3 separate regions of the Homo sapiens genome follow, and regions 1 and 2 are each linked to region 3. Evidence: promoter capture Hi-C in 16 types of primary human blood cells and fetal thymus (Javierre and others, 2016). All regions are on one chromosome and are shown on one strand. Each heading gives the region's core, a stretch centred on a gene start or on the middle of the fragment in contact. The rest is flanking DNA. Distances are from core to core; before and after follow the strand shown.

Region 1 (3,545 bases), core at 811-3,310, 270 kb after region 3:
CCTCATATGAGTGAAATAAGGCAATATTTATCCTTTTGTGCTTGGCTTATTTCACTCAGCATAATATTTTTAAGTTTTATCCATGTTCAAAGGATCGAAATTTTATTTTATTATTTTATTTTATTTTTTTTAGACAGGGTCTCGCTCTGTCTCCAAGGTTGGACTTGGAGTGTAGTGGTGCTATCTCAGCTCATTGCAACCTCTGCCTTCTGGGTTTAAGTGGTTCTCTTGCCTCAGCCTCCTGAGTAGCTGGGATTACAGATGCCTGCCACCACGCCCAGCTAATTTTTTGTATTTTTAGTAGAGATGGGGTTTCACCATGTTGGCCAGGCTGGTCTGGAACTCTTGACCTCAGGTGATCCGCCCACCTCAGCCTCCCAAAGTGTTGGGATTACAGGCGTGAGCCACTGGGCCTGGCCCTGTGTTTAACTTTTGAGGCCTGCTGGGGGACTAATTTTGAATTCTAGGTTGATAGGACAATGTGCAGATTAGCCTCTTCCCTGGGACCCCCTACCAATATCTTGCATTGGTTTACTTCAGAAATTAAACCACCTACAAATGAGCCCTAAGTCTCCATTTAGTTAATAAAGTTCTTCTCTCTGCAGCAATTCTCTTTCCAAAGAGTTGCTTGAAAGGAACAGATCTGAAGAAGACATAAATGATTTATATAATTCACAACTAGGACAATTTAGAATAAGTTGCCTAAGTGATGAACAAAGACATTTAACACCTTTTATGGGTGTTTCCAGAGAAAAAAATGATCAAATTAAAAACAATGAAAAATTCTTACATAAAAACAGACAAAAACTTTGCCAAATGGAAAAAAGAAATTATGGAAAGGTGAACAAGTGACAGGGAAACTGTGGATGGTAAGAAGTAAGCTGAGTTAGGTTTTGGCTGTAATTCAGCTTCCATAGTGTTGGAACTGACTGATTCAGTAATCAAAGCTTGACTTTCCCTTGTGCAAAGTGTTTAATGATGTTTTAACACTAGCAGTTAATATATTTCACAATAGACAATGTTCATCCACGGAAAAACAAATATTTCTTCTTGCCAAAAAAAGGTCAGATTTGCACTCATTTTTCCATATTCCTTTTTCTAATCAGGTGTCAGATGTCAGCAAACTGATCTACTTAAAACAGTGTTGACATACAATGCAAAACAAACATACCAATATGGCTTGGAGAGCCAGCATTTGTGAACCAAACAGCCAGGGTGATAATGGGCTGGGCCCTCCAACAGAGCAGCTTTTGACAATTGAAGCCTAACGTTAGGCCTTTTAGCTATATTGCCTTTATGCATCCTGAAAGCAGGCACTGGAGACGTAAATCTGTAATTAGGGGTTATTTAAAACAGAGATTTGTGACCTGACAGACTGCAAACTGTCTATATCCACAAACACAGTGAAATTGCTCCAGCCCTTTGTCTCCAGGGGTATCTGGTCTATTGAAGGTCTCTGGTTTACAGGGGCGCTTGGGTTCATGTTATACCGCCTGAGAGATGGGTGCATGGGACCGAGAGCAGCACATGAAACATTAGCATTGTTTCTAAATCTCATCTAAAAATGATACATGCTATTAGCGGTTGCATTCTTTGTCCGAAAACCAGTCATTCTGAGTTGAAGTTTAACTTACCTCATTATGTAAGTGCTCTGAACCTCACAGTCAAGTTTCAAACTTAATAATAGGAAATGGAATTCTTTGTGCAAGGTGAATAAAAGGTATAGAGAAACACAGAATTCTTAGGGTTTGTAGTAGCCCAGGGAATTCAAAGCTCTTTAACAAGAGATTGATATTTTAGAATATTTTGAAGATTTAAAATTCCAGGGCTGGGGATGGTGGCTCATGCTTGTAATCCCAGCACTTTGAGGGGCCAGGGCAGGCGGATTGCTTGAGCCCAGGAGTTCGAGACCAGTCTGAGCAACATGACGAAACCCCCATCTCTACAAAAAATAGAAAAATTAGCCAGATGTGGTGGCCTACATCTGTGGCCCCAGCTACTTGGGAGGCTGATGTAGGTGGATTGCTGGAGCGCAGGAAGTTGAGGCTGCAGTGAGCCATGGCTTGAGCACTGCACTCCAGCCTGAGTGAGAGTGAGACCCTGTCTCAAAAAAGAAAAAATGTAAAAATAAAATAAAATTCCACCTACAACCACTTTAGTTGGAAAAATAGCTAATGCATGCAGGACTTAATACTTAGGTGATGGGTTGCTAGGTGCAGCAAACCACCCATGGCACAGATTTTCCTGTGTAACAAACCTGCACATCACATCCTGCACATTTACCCTGGAACTTAAAAAATAATTAAATTAAATTATACAAATAATACTTATAAATATAATAAGTATTTACTGAGTACCTGTTGTATTAACAGCCCTCATATCAAGTAGTGTCTGTGTAAGTATGTACTTATAAAATGTCATTTCCTTTTACCTTTTGCTGTGGCCTGTGCCATCATCTTTCCCTGGACACTGATTTTCCATGCTTATTCATTTTGTGTCTTTCATTTAAAATGAAAATATTTACCAGTGTGTGATTAATACAGTGACTTAAAACCTTTATGAGGCATCTAAAATTGCATGACAAACTTGCATTCCTATTTATAGGACCCTGTAAAGGAACTGTATATTTAACACAATAAATATATTGATATTGATTGTCAGAACAAACTCTCCAAAACTTAAATATTTTAAAATTATTAAATGTTTCAGATTAAAAAAAAAAAAGAAAAAAAAAAGCACAGAAAGTAAACATGTAAAAGACACCCATGTACTAATCACTGGCATTTGTCACATTTAACAATTTGCCATATTTGCTTCCCATGGTTTTTATTTTTCAAGAAAGCATTGTTAAAGCACTGACCTTAGACAAATTAAATTTAGCAGTTTAATGGAGCAAAGAATGTTTGCAAATCGGGGATCCCCTGAACCAGAGTAGGTTCAGAGAGGCTCCAGAGCAGCTGCATGGTGGAAAAAGATTTATGGACAGAAAAAGTGAGGTACAGAAAACAGAAGTGAATTACACCAACAGCTGGATTGGTTACAGCTCAGGGTTTGCCTTATTTGAACACAGCTTGAACAGTTGGTCACCCTTGACTGGCCAAAACATGGTGGTTGGTACAAGAGTAAGTTAGTCTGTTTATATACCCAGTTGGGTTACAGTTCATTGTGTATGGAGAAGCTTTAGGCTGAACTTAAAATATGTAAGGAGGCGGCTTTAGGCTAAACTTAATTTAACAGCATTAATGATAGCTGGGTGCAGTTATGTACACCCATAGTCCCAGCTATGTGGGAGGCTGAAGTGGGAGGATCACTTGAGGCCAGAAGTTGGAGGCTGTAATGTGCTATGATCACACCACTGCACTCCAGCCTGGGCAACATAGCAAGACCCAGCCTTTTTTTAAAAAAAAAAAAAGAAAAAGAAAAGAAGAAAGCATTAATAATAGAATCAAAGGACCCACCCTTGCCTCTTTCCTCCATCTTTTCCACCTTAAGTTAATTTCTGTGCTATTCTGCTTGTCTAGGTTTTTATACTCTCCCAACTTAGG
Region 2 (3,254 bases), core at 1-2,500, 290 kb after region 3:
TTCCTCTGTTGAAAAACAGTGGTTTTTTTTGTTTTTTTTCTTAATGGCTTATTTGTAGGGCTCTACTTGTCATCAATGCCGTCAGAAGACTATTGATACCAAAACAAACTGCAGAAACCCAGACTGCTGGGGCGTTCGAGGCCAGTTCTGTGGCCCCTGCCTTCGAAACCGTTATGGTGAAGAGGTCAGGGATGCTCTGCTGGATCCGGTAGGTGCCTGCCAGGGGTTGGTCCTGTGGGCTTGAAGGTCAGCCACAAACTGTGATGAGGCCAGAAAAAGGCATTGGTGAAGGGGTGGAGCCCTTTCTGTTATGGGGTGCTCTTCTTTTTTTTTAAGATGGAGTCTCATTCTGTCGCCAGGCTGCAGTGCAGTGGCGCGATCTCAGCTCACTGCAACCTCCTCCTCCTGGGTTCAAGCGATTCTCCTGCCTCAGCCTCCCAAGTAGCTGGGACTACAGGCACGCGCCACCACACCTAGCTAATTTTTGTATTTTTAGTAGAGACGGGGTTTCACCACATTGGCCAGGATGGTGTGGTGGTACAAGATCTCTTGACCTCGTGATCCACCCGCCTCGGCCTCCTGAAGTGCTGGGATTACAGGTGTGAGCCACCACGCCCGGCCCAGGGTGCTCTTAATTCAGAACACAAATGAATTCAGAGGGATGGTGCTGCATAGGCATGAGCCGCTTCTACGATACTCGGGTCTGAACTGTCCCTGGGAAGTTGCTGCTCCATTTATCCCTGGTAGCTGCTTGTAACTTCCACTCCTGGAAGGAAGCATTAGGCATTAGGAAACATTAGGCATGACTAATGCCTATTAATCATATAAATTTTTAACCATAAAGAAGGGGTTAAATGTAATGTAGATAAGTTGGTGGGGGAGGTAAGGTTTAACTTAATTGTGCCGTTTGACAATCCTCCTTCAGAACTGGCATTGCCCGCCTTGTCGAGGAATCTGCAACTGCAGTTTCTGCCGGCAGCGAGATGGACGGTGTGCGACTGGGGTCCTTGTGTATTTAGCCAAATATCATGGCTTTGGGAATGTGCATGCCTACTTGAAAAGGTAGTGGGTGTTTTTTTTTCCCTTCCACATCTGAATTTTATATTCATTTATGTCTTAATGAGAAGATGATAGATGTCAGAAGAGTGGTTATCTCTGGCGGGGTGGAGACTGACTGGAACGGGGCACACTGGAAGGGATGGGAACATTTTCTGTCTTCACTTAGGTGGTGGTAACCCGGGTGGGTGGGTGTGTATGAAAAAGTCAGGTAATATACTTGAAGATGCGCACACTTGACCATAGTGATGTTATAACTCAATAAAAATGGTTTTAAAAATGAATTAGGCTTTCAAAAGAGAATTCTTTGGTTGAAAACTATGTCCTGACACATTTCCTTTTGTTTTTCACAGCCTGAAACAGGAATTTGAAATGCAAGCATAATATCTGGAAAATTTGCTGCCTGCCTTCTACTTCTCAAATCTTTCTTGTAAAAGTTTCCAATTTTTTCACTGAAACCTGAGTTAAAAATCTTGATGATCAGCCTGTTTCATAAGAAACTCCAATCAAGTTAATCTTAGCAGACATGTGTTTCTGGAGCATCACAGAAGGTATATTGCTAGTTACACTTTGCCCTCCTGCAGTTTCTTCTCTGCTCCCAACCCCCATCTCACAGCATCCCCCTCTATTTCCAATGCTCCTCTCCAACCGCTTAGTTTCTGAATTTCTTTTAAATTACAGTTTTATGAAAGCATATTTTATTTACTTGGTGTTGAAATAGCCCTCATAAAACCTAAGCACTTGGAAACACAATAATAGTATTAACTAACTAGATCTATTGAATTTCAGAGAAGAGCCTTCTAACTTGTTTACACAAAAACGAGTATGATTTAGCATTCATACTAGTTGAAATTTTTAATAGAATCAAGGCACAAAAGTCTTAAAACCATGTGGAAAAATTAGGTAATTATTGCAGATTGATGTCTCTCAATCCCATGTATTGCGCTTATGTTACAAGTTGTTGTCACAGTTGAGACTTAATTTCTCCTAATTTCTTCTGCCCGAAGGGTAAGTGGTGCGTCCAGCTTACACAATCATAATTCAAAGGTTGGTGGGCAATGTAATACTTAATTAAAATAATGATGGAAGAGCTATCTGGAGATTATGAGTAAGCTGATTTGAATTTTCAGTATAAAACTTTAGTATAATTGTAGTTTGCAAAGTTTATTTCAGTTCACATGTAAGGTATTGCAAATAAATTCTTGGACAATTTTGTATGGAAACTTGATATTAAAAACTAGTCTGTGGTTCTTTGCAGTTTCTTGTAAATTTATAAACCAGGCACAAGGTTCAAGTTTAGATTTTAAGCACTTTTATAACAATGATAAGTGCCTTTTTGGAGATGTAACTTTTAGCAGTTTGTTAACCTGACATCTCTGCCAGTCTAGTTTCTGGGCAGGTTTCCTGTGTCAGTATTCCCCCTCCTCTTTGCATTAATCAAGGTATTTGGTAGAGGTGGAATCTAAGTGTTTGTATGTCCAATTTACTTGCATATGTAAACCATTGCTGTGCCATTCAATGTTTGATGCATAATTGGACCTTGAATCGATAAGTGTAAATACAGCTTTTGATCTGTAATGCTTTTATACAAAAGTTTATTTTAATAATAAAATGTTTGTTCTAACTTGTCTGCTTTTTTAAAAATAATCTTACTGTACTTAATTCTAATTTTTTCCTCATATTTAAATAAAAGGCCATTTCCACCTTTTCTAAAAAAGTCTCCCTTTTGACTGAAGTTTCTGAAGTTCTAAGGTCAGCTTGTTTGAAAGGACCTCACTAGGTGACAGGACTAATACCTGTGATCAGAAAACGGGCGGAGACAACCACAGTGCCTGATAGAAAACAATATGTGCCCATGAAGTTTTGTAGTGTTTTCTTTTCCTTTATGATGTGCTTTGCAATACCTGGCTTACTTTTATCAACCATTCAAACATATATTAAATGCATGCTGTGCCTTGAGGCTTGTTCCAGGACTGTGAGAATCAACAAAAAAGGCATGGTCTAAAAGCTCTCATAGCCCAATTCTTTTTTTATTTTTTGTAGAGACAGGTCTTGCTATGTTGCTCAGGCTGGTTTCAAACTCCTGGGCTCAAGGGATCCTCCTGCCTTGGCCTCCCAAAGTCACAGGCAAGAGCCACCACCACACCGGCTGTCCAATTCTTTAGACCAGGGATTGGCAAACTACAGCCTGTGGGCTA
Region 3 (3,234 bases), core at 192-2,691:
TTCACTCTTGACCTCTTTCCTGAATTTCAGTTTCATATTTCAGTTGCTGCATCTCTACCTGTTTTTACTCCTATGACCTCAAACTCAACATGAAGCCAGCTTCCCTTTCACGTATTCCTATTTTTGTCAATGACACCATCATTCTTCCAGTCATCCAGGTCTGAGATCTTGGCATCATCTCTCTTCTTCTTCTCTTCTAAATCTTGTGGGTTACCAATTTCTGTGGCCTCTTGCTGAAACGTTTAATATTTCTCTCAATTCCATTTCTTCTTTTTTTTTTTTTTTTTTTTTTTTTTTTTTTTTTGAGACAGAGTCTCACTTTCATCCAGGCTGGAGTGCAGTGGCGCGACTGTGGTTCACTTTAGCCTCGACTTCCCCAGCTCAAGCGATTCTCCCACCTCAGCCTCCCGAGTAGCTGGGACTATAGATGTATGCCACCACATCAGGCTAATTTTCTGATTTTTTTGGAGATGAGGTCTCACTGTGTTACCCAGCCAGGTCTCAAGCAATCCTCTCAGCTTGGCCTCCCAAAGTGCTGGGATTACAGGTACCATGCCCAGCCCATTTCTTCTTTTTAATTCCATTTCCTACATCCTAACTCAGGTCCTCATGATCCCACAACCGGGTGGTGACAATATCTACTACTCATCCTGGTTCCATCCTAGCAACCCAACCTACAACTACTGTGGACTACTCTCTCAAAATTACCATTTAAACAGAATCACAAACCCCCATTTCACCCCTTTGATTCTAATTTTTCACAGCTCCCAGTGTCCATGGATAATAAAATTCAAATTCAAAATCCTGAATAATGTTGCCCATGCCCTTGCAACCTCCTCTCACTTTTCCTTCACAGAACCATCCTCCCCAATCAGAAATTTCTTTTCTTCCCAACGCCCACCTCCACCTTTGGCTTAGGCCTGTAACGGACTCTGGCTCCTCTTCTGAATTCTGCTCTGTTAAAATTAGCAACTAGAGCAGCAGACCACGGCCCCTCCTCAAAATTCCAGAGGTACCTACTGATCTTTCTAGAGAGGCAGCCTTCAGACCTATGTTCCCAGAAATCTCTACGTTTGTGCCTTTCCCAACTAGAGAATTAACTCTTGCGGGGCACAAAACAGCCTCTATTTCTTTGCGTCCCCAGCGCCTGTTTGTTGAAGACTGAGTTGAAGGAGTAGCAGGTGGTGTTAATTTGTCAAAAAGATGAGTTAAGGTGCTGGGGGCGAGGGGGAACACCCCCACGGCCCTCCCCCCACAGCAAGGCAGGTGTGTCTGGGGGCCTCGGCGGGTGCCGGGGCGCGGGGCGGATGGTGCCCCCCGGGCGCAGGCCAGGGAGGCCCGAGCGCCTTCCCCACGCCCCGCTCGCCCGCGCGTGTGAGGGGAGGGCGGCCCAGCCGTTTCGCGCCGGGAGGTAGGTGGTGCTGTTGCCGTGACTGTCTTCCTCATTGGCGCCGTGCAGAGAGGCGGAATGTTCAACTCCTAACTGCAGCGGAAACGTGGGAGCCGCGCGGGCCGCTGTCGTCCCAACCCCCGCCGCCCTCGTCGCGCGCGGGGCCTCCGCGCCCCCGGCTGCTGCTCACGCCCCGCCCGGGAGCCAGGTAGGGGTCAGGCTGGAGCCCGCGGAGGGCGGGGAGGGAGGGGGCGAGGCCCGCCGCGCTCGCGAGTCGTCCCTGCGTCTCGGGGCCGAGGCTCCGCCGGAGCCCGGGAGTCTAGGCGGCCTCGGGAGGCTCCTCGGGGCTCCCCTCCCCGACCCAGGGCCCGCCCGGCGGCGGCGGCCGGAGCGAGCGGGCGGGCGAGCGAGCGAGCGTTCGCGGCGCCCGGGAAGTCCTCGCGGGACCTTGGCCGCGGCGCCGCCAAGTGCGGTTCGGGAGAGTTCGGGCCGGTCCCATGGAGAAGTTGGCGCCTGGAGGCGCGGGCGCAGGCCGGAGCGGCCCCGGCTTTCGCGGTCCCGGGCGTGCGGCACGGGCAGGGGCTCCGCGAGCAGCAGAGCCGGCCAAGCAGCGGGTGACTGGGGCACTGTCGGGAGGCGAACCGCGAGGCCCCCAAATCAGGGTAGGGTGCAGGCCACTTCCCAGCACTCGCTGTGCGTGCGAGGAGGGACGACGAACTTCTGCTTTTCTAAGAACTCGACCGCGAGCGGTGTTGCTTCCCATCCATTTTCCTTCATTCTGTTTTCCTCACACAATTAGGCCATGCGAATAACCAGCAGGAACAATGAACACTAAAGATTAGTTTTAAAAACATGCGTAAATGTATCCAGAGCCACCGCTCCCCGCCCTTCCTGCCCCGGGCTTGGGCAGCATGAAGCGCCCGCCCTCTCGGGCTTCCCCCTTTCCTCCCACCGGAGCCGGGGATGTCTCCTTTGGCGACCCTCAGGCAGCGGCTTTTTGTGGGCTCCCAGACCTGCACCAGGCCCAGAAGTGCTTACCCAGGCCGTCGCCTCGTCTGGCCTCGCTTGCCCATGACAGCTTTCAGAAAACTTTAATTCAGGACTGGCTAGATGACATCCGATTGCCTAAAAAATTTTTTTAAAAAGTTATCTCTGTTAGATCGCTGAAAATGTTATGTTTCTGATGCGCTTTGAGATCGCGCATAAGTACTGTTTATGGGGAACTTAATTACTATTTTTGTTAGTTTCTGTAATAATGAAAGCAACACAATTTAGGGGCCCATTCCAAGTATGGTACAGTAAGCAGCTCTCGATACTGGTGTGTGAGAATCGTCTTACAGAGTGAATTTGAGGATGTTTGACTTAAGATTGTTGAAAACTGTACTCCTTCTTTAACCCCGAAGCTGTTTTGGAAGAGCCTTCTTGCTTCCTCGACCTTCGTTGAAATGAACAGCTAGGATTTAGTGGATCCAAACCTCCAAACACGTTTAAAGACAAAAATAAACAAGTGATTCAAGGCTAGTTAATGTCCTCTTTGTAGTAGGCCTATCTCCACAGTGAAATTTCACTTGTTTTTCAATTTTCCAAAAAAAAAAAAAAAAAAAAGTGATGGCTGCATTTTAATTATGGTTATGGTCATTTGTAGAGTCTTTGTTTTAAATTCCTGCTACTATAGTGAGAGATTTAGGAGATTGTAAATGAATACGAATTTAGTTTGGGAAAACAGAATTAAGATAAAGAAAAATGGTCTTTTGGACCACTGCACTGTTTATTTTAATCTATCACAATTTAATTCCTACTATAACTTTTTGAGATTATTTGGGGAGTTTTTTAACTACAAAATA

What was found. Contacts are between HindIII fragments. The CHiCAGO score rates a contact against its expected background, and 5 or more counts as called.
Region 1: a contact is called between a fragment that was not itself captured here and the fragment with the promoter of MAP3K20 in region 3, in 1 of 17 cell types (neutrophils). The highest score is 5.2, in neutrophils.
Region 2: a fragment that was not itself captured here is called in contact with the fragment with the promoter of MAP3K20 in region 3 in 1 of 17 cell types (neutrophils); the score reaches 5.3 in neutrophils.

The regions. Positions count from the first base shown.
Region 1 is chr2:173,346,422-173,349,966 of GRCh38, forward strand. No RefSeq gene overlaps it. Among named protein-coding and RNA genes, the nearest start is that of CDCA7, 6.7 kb to the right of the region's middle. The HindIII fragment of the contact is 2,231 bases long and covers 946-3,176 here.
Region 2 is chr2:173,366,225-173,369,478 of GRCh38, forward strand. CDCA7 (cell division cycle associated 7) reads left to right here. Exons shown (of 10, transcript NM_031942.5): 8 at 59-208; 9 at 926-1,062; 10 at 1,410-2,773. The coding sequence ends at 1,440. Among named protein-coding and RNA genes, the nearest start is that of CDCA7, 13 kb to the left of the region's middle. The HindIII fragment of the contact is 4,671 bases long and covers 1-3,254 here.
Region 3 is chr2:173,074,405-173,077,638 of GRCh38, forward strand. MAP3K20 (mitogen-activated protein kinase kinase kinase 20) reads left to right here and starts at 1,442. Exons shown (of 20, transcript NM_016653.3): 1 at 1,442-1,598. RefSeq lists silencers at 1,137-1,186, 1,267-2,006. The HindIII fragment of the contact is 14,354 bases long and covers 1-3,234 here.